2 separate regions of the Homo sapiens genome follow, and region 2 is linked to region 1. The links are contacts of gene promoters, found by promoter capture Hi-C in human tissues and cell types (Jung and others, 2019). All regions are on one chromosome and are shown on one strand. Each heading gives the region's core, a stretch centred on a gene start or on the middle of the fragment in contact. The rest is flanking DNA. Distances are from core to core; before and after follow the strand shown.

Region 1 (2,762 bases), core at 151-2,650:
CACACCTATTAGGGCTAAAATTCTAAGGATGGGGCACGGAAATCTGTGTTTCATCAAGCCCTCTAAGTGATTTAGATACATGTAAAGTTCATCGAGAATCAGAGCATCACACCTGAACTGCACATTAGAATCACTTGGGTCACTTTCCACAGAAATGCTGTGGCCCCATGCCCAGAGATATTAATTTAATTGGACTGGGATAAAGCCCTGGTATCAGTACTTTCTCAAGTCTCAGGTGATTACGATGTGATTTTACTGTGCAGTCAGGGTTGAGGCTACTTCTGTAGAACAGCTGAGGCTGGGGGCTAGGACAAGGGCTGGAAGGATCTTACAGGTGGTGTGCAAAAGCCCAGAGGTCAGAGAAAGCCTGATGTAGTGTGTTTGGGGACCGGACAAGGCTACATACAACAAAACCCCATGATTTAAAATAAGGTTTGTAGATATAAGTTCATTTGTTCATTGTAGTACTTCTTAAACTTTAACAAGCATAGAAATCATCTGAGGGTCTCATAGAAACACACAGATTCTGATTTGGTAAGTAGGAGCAGGGGACTGAGGTTCTGCATTTCTATAAGATCAGCGATGCTGATGTTGCCGGTCTGCAGACTGCACCTCACCTTAGCAAGGTTCTATTGCCCCAGCTTTCCCTGAGGGTACATGTCAGTGGATGGGAACTGCAGAAGGATGTATCTATGCATTAGTCCCAGGGCTGACATAAGGGCACCTAGTTGGGGTGAACTGTGGATGCCCATTGTTGTGTGGACATGTTTTCATGGTAGGGAGGAAAGACGCAGCCTCGCCCAACCTCCTAGCCTGCTCTTCTGATTATTATCCATCAAGGTCGTACTGCTTTTAGCTCAGCAGTAACTCCCCTCTTTCTCTCCTCGTCCCTCCCACGCCAATCTAGCTGAGTGCCTCCCCCGGCCAGGCCAGCCGACCAGATCATTAAGTGACCGCCGGAGTGCTCCGTAACGCGCCAGCCAGCCAGTGAGGCGCTGGGCGAGGCGGGGGCTCTCCTGGGACCCGTCTCCCTCTTCCCACCTTCCCCCGCTGACCGCGGCGGTGCCTGCGGCAGAGCCTCCCTCTGCAGCAGCCCCTTGCACTTGGCTCGCACTTCTGGGCGCTGTCCATGGTTGCAGCAGCTTTCGGCGCGCCACGTCAGGAGGCCGCAGCACGGCCCTGCGATTGGCGGAGGAGCCCCTCGCCATACCCCTGCACCTCCGCCCACGCGCCACGGCGCCCGAGGCGCGTGCCAGAGAGCGTGCCCGGCGCGCCCCGGGGCTCCTGGGCGGCACACCCACTTTCCTTATTAGGGCAGAGTCGGGTGCCCAGAGCCGGCGGCCGGGCGAGGGGTGGGGCGGGGAGCCCTGGGCGAGACGGTCGAGGGCGCAAGCACAGCCTCCGCCGCAGCCGCCTCAGAGCGGCAGGAGGGAGCAGTCGGTCGCTGCGCCCCGGCGGGCCACTTTCCCGGGACCCCGCTCGTCTTCCTTGGGCCGAGATTTTCCACTGCGCCCCTCCGAGTACCCGGGTTCCAAACCCCTAGCCACGACATGGAAGAATTTTTGCAACGCGCCAAATCTAAACTGGTAAGTTGAGTGAGCAAAGCTGTGTGTGTGCGCGCGCGCGTATGCTAATGGAAAGGTGGAGAGGAAAAGGTGTTGCAGCAGAGGAGGAAGAAACAACTTTGCCACGGAGTTATCAGGGTGTGCGGGTTGTCTCCTGGAAGAAATCTCAGGAACTCTGGCTCTTAAAGCTGGCAATCTGTCTCCAGAATCCTCCACCGCAACCAGACGAGGTGCAGAGCTGAAGGAGGTTGTGGCCTGGCTGAAGTTGGGTCGCTTCAGTCCAGCTTCGGTCCCTAAATCAGCAGTTTGCTCCTGAAAGCTAAGGGATAAATGGGTGTGGTCTTCCTTGAGATAAAGAGCCCAGCCTTCTGCAGATGCATTACGTGTAAGTGTAAAAGGAAAAAAAGAGACCCTTAGAACTGTACTTCAGCTGGAGGTGACAAAAGTGAGGAAGTCAGGGTGCTGGGTAGCAAGGACATGTGTGGTACTGGAGAATCCACAGAATAGAGCTTGCTCCACTGCAGGAGTTAGGGATATTCTAGTGTGTCTTGTGTCTCGCTAATTCCTGTTCACATCTGTAAATTGGGGCGGAGGCAGAAGGGGAAAGCTCTAACTGTTGGTGTTCTGGAGTTTACCAGATCATCGTTCTCCCGGGAGCAGACCTGTGTGTTAGCCCATGTTTACCATATCACTGTCCAAACAGTGAATGGGCAACTCCACTGTGTATGTTAACAGTTGCTACACATTCTGAAACAACAGACTCTAGCAGTTTCTTAATTCCAAACTGTTTTGGCTCTCCAGCACAGCAGTAATAAACATAATGGAAATGTTTCTGTTTTGGCAGAAAAAAAAAGAAAAGCCTGTACTCATTTAGAAGCAATATCTTTAAAGAACTGTAAAAGCACCTTTTACAGGCCTGGCATAGAAAGAAATGCATAATTTATGATGCCTTTAACCTTTAAGCCTTCATAGAAGCCAAAATGTAAAGTCTGCATTAAGGTAATGTTTTAATCACAAGGCAGGATATTTGCAGGGTTATTACTGTAACTCATTTACCCTCGCACAACAAAGGGAGTGCAGGAAGGGAGGGCCCAAAGATGCCTGAACCACCATTCAGAGTGCAGACGGAAGTGTGATCCTTACAATGGTCTAACTGTAACTATCTTGTAAAAGACCATTAAAGTTGATAAGTGCTTA
Region 2 (3,093 bases), core at 1-2,500, 110 kb after region 1:
GGCAGGATCAAGATCCAAGAAGAATGAATGTTTCAGTTTGCATCCTAAGGCCAGAAAAGACTGAAGTTCTGCAGGAGAGGCTCCCTCTTCCTCAGCCTTCTTGTTCTATTTGAGTCTTCAGTTGATTGGATGGGGTCTACCCACACGGGGGAAAGTGGTCAGCTTTACCCGGTCTGCTAATTCCAGTGTTAATCTCATGCAGAAACACCATCAGAGACATACCTAGAATGTAATGTTTGGCCAAATGTCCGGACATCCCATGTGGCAGTCAAGTTGACACATACAAAATTAACTATGACAATTAGGAAATGCATAAATGCCAGCTGTAAGGAGGCATTCTTTCAGTCTACCCATTTTATAGTAAAACAGGTTGTGTGAGTAGCATAAAGTGCATGCCAGACACTTGTGACACCAATCAGGGGAAGAAGTGGTGGGGGCCGTGCCAAAATGAGGATCTTGATGATTCAAGTTCTTTTACAGAATCCTCTCAGATTTCTGCTTTCTCACCACGCATGTTTCTTTGCCTATCCTTCCTGGGGCATGAGGGCCTCAGGAGGAGAAGCATGTGTGCTTCTCCTGTGCCCTGGGGTAATGATCGTAGCGAGGCTTTATTTTATCAGCCCTTGTCATTTAATGATATTGTCATTGAACCAGTCCATTGCGTGGTCCCTTCTACAGTTCCTCTTCTTGCTTATTTAAAAAATTCCTTTGGAGCTAGCAAGATTTGGATCTTAGGTTGCTAATAGAAGAGTGCTGTGCGTTCTTAAGCAATTTACCTGGCAAAATTTTATGAGTGATCATATATCTTTTGTAAAGAAAAGCATTTTATTTACCCAAATTATACACAAACTTGATTTAAACATTAGAGCCTGGGTTAAACTTTGAAATGAGGCACCTGTGAAGTGAGTGATTGGAACAGTAAATTAGTTCCCTTGATTTATCAGATTCTGCAGTTGTTTTACGGTAGTCTTATAGTCCCAATACCAATATCTATCTGTTTGAGTCTTATTCTCTCAGAAATTTTCTCAATATGAAAAGTCAATGTCCAGGCAGAAGTACTTCAATATTAAATGGTTTCTGGCCATTTGTTAAAAAAGTTATGTGTGATTTTTATGTACACCTGGGGCTTTGAATTAATGGGATGTACTAACCACCAGGTATAGAAGGTGGACTACATGATTCATTAAAAGTACCGTATTTGGATCCTGTCAATAAAATTCTGTATTTTTACGGTGAACAAAATATTTGCATTTATCTCCCCTTCCTTCCTCTGCCCCTTTCTGTGCCCCCTCTTTCCCCTTTTAGGCTCGTGTACAAGAAACCATAAGGCAGAGATAACATGATCACATCACTTTTGGGAGAACATGCTCCCCCCCAGGGGCTATTAGTAACTCAAAATCAGGTTGAATCACAAACCAAGACAAGTTGAATTGTGAACTGTCTCTGGGCTGGGGCTGTTTCAAGATCCAATGGGGTCTGCTAAGATGGGATTCACAGAATGACATTGGAGGGATCAGAAATAAGACCCCTCTCAAAGGCAGGGGTCTGGGTCTAGTGCCTGACTTCTCTCAATGTTTGTCTGGGTCTCCGCAGTTTGGTGACCATAGTTATGGTGTTTTGACGGTGTGATGTCTTTGAAGCCCAGTGTTACTGATGGTAGCATTATCTAGAAGGCAGATCTGCTCTTTGGACACATGTGTGCCCGAGATACTGATAGGGTATGATACTGAGACCTAGCTAGAGTAATAGTTCATGCATATTCATTCTGGAGATTGGCCAAAGCTTCCTCTCAGCATCCGACAGCTGGAACCCAGTCACCCTGGCCAGCGTCATTCAATTAGGCCCCCATTCCCAGGTAAGGCTTCTCTGTTGTCTCTGACCATATGTTAGAGCAGTGGGAGTCCAGTAACTTCTCTTGCCTTCCTTCGTGGCAGGCAGAAGAGCATTGGAGGGTATTTTTTCCTTCTAGTAGGTCTACATCAACAGACTGATAATTCAAGTAATAATAATTATAATAATTGGTAATACATATCAAATTCTGAGTATGTTCTGGACACTTTGCTTAAAACTTAATGTGATTTGTCCTATTTAATTCTTAGGGCCACTCCATGAGGTAGTTACTTGGTATTTGCATTCCCATTATACATATATAGCAGATGACTGAGGCCTGGAGAAGGTATGTAACTTTGCTCGAGGTCGGACAGCTACTAAATGGTGAAGAAACTAAGCTTTCTTTCCAGGGATTCCCCTTCCAGGTGCTGCACTCTTTCTTTTTCTTTCTTTCTTTTCTTTTCTTTTTTTTTTTTTTTTTGAGACAGAGTCTCTCTTTGTCGCCAGGCTGGAGTGCAGTGGTGCGATCTGGGCTCACTGCAACCTCTGCCTCCGAGATTCAAGCGATTCTCTTGCCTCAGCCTCCCGAGTAGCTGGGACTACAGGCGCCGGCCACTACGCCCAGCTAATTTTTGTATTTTTAGTAGAGACAGGGTTTCACTGTGTTGGCCAGGATGACCTCGATCTCTTAACCTCGTGATCCCCCTGCCTCAGACTCCCAAAGTGCTGGGATTAGAGGCGTGAGCGACCGCGCTCGCTCGGAGGCCGCGCTCTTTGCCACCACCTTACTGCCTCCAGATACCTCCTGAGGCTGAGCCCCAGGGCCTGAGTCTGAAATCCTGGTTCCGCCATTTGCCATATCAGCATATTTATTTATTTTCTCTGAAGCACCGTATCTCGTTGGTGAAAAAGATACTTAAAAACCTAGTTCATAGGATTGTTTTTAAGATTTAGTGTAGGTAAAATTCTCAGTAGTTCCTGATATATATTAAGTGCTCAATAAATAGTAACTAGGCTTATTAAAGTAGGCCTTATTAAAACAATAAAAAAAACCTGCTTGGCTTCAGACAAAGCAAAGCATTGTTAAGAAACAAAGGGATATCTGTGGTTGCCCAAGCCCTTACTGGGTAAGTTCATAATGTCTTTATAGCCCACGCCTTTTTGAAAAGCAGGCCGGAAGAAATATCAGATTTGCTGAAATGCTATAGACCATGTTGTATGGAACAAAGAACTATGAAATGGGAATTAAAAGACTGGGATTCT

The links. The method cuts DNA at HindIII sites, captures the fragments that hold promoters and counts their contacts. A contact is called where the count stands out against the background at its distance.
Region 2: a fragment that was not itself captured here is called in contact with the fragment with the promoter of PRUNE2 in region 1 in 2 of the 25 tissues and cell types used here (H1 embryonic stem cells and psoas muscle).

The regions. Positions count from the first base shown.
Region 1 is chr9:76,904,752-76,907,513 of GRCh38, reverse strand. It overlaps PRUNE2 (prune homolog 2 with BCH domain), which reads left to right and starts at 1,400. Exons shown (of 19, transcript NM_015225.3): 1 at 1,400-1,586. The coding sequence starts at 1,551. RefSeq lists a silencer at 1,271-1,330. The HindIII fragment of the contact is 8,445 bases long and covers 1-2,762 here.
Region 2 is chr9:76,793,832-76,796,924 of GRCh38, reverse strand. The region is part of intron 6 of PRUNE2 (prune homolog 2 with BCH domain); the gene reads left to right. Among named protein-coding and RNA genes, the nearest start is that of PCA3, 31 kb to the right of the region's middle. The HindIII fragment of the contact is 6,528 bases long and covers 1-3,093 here.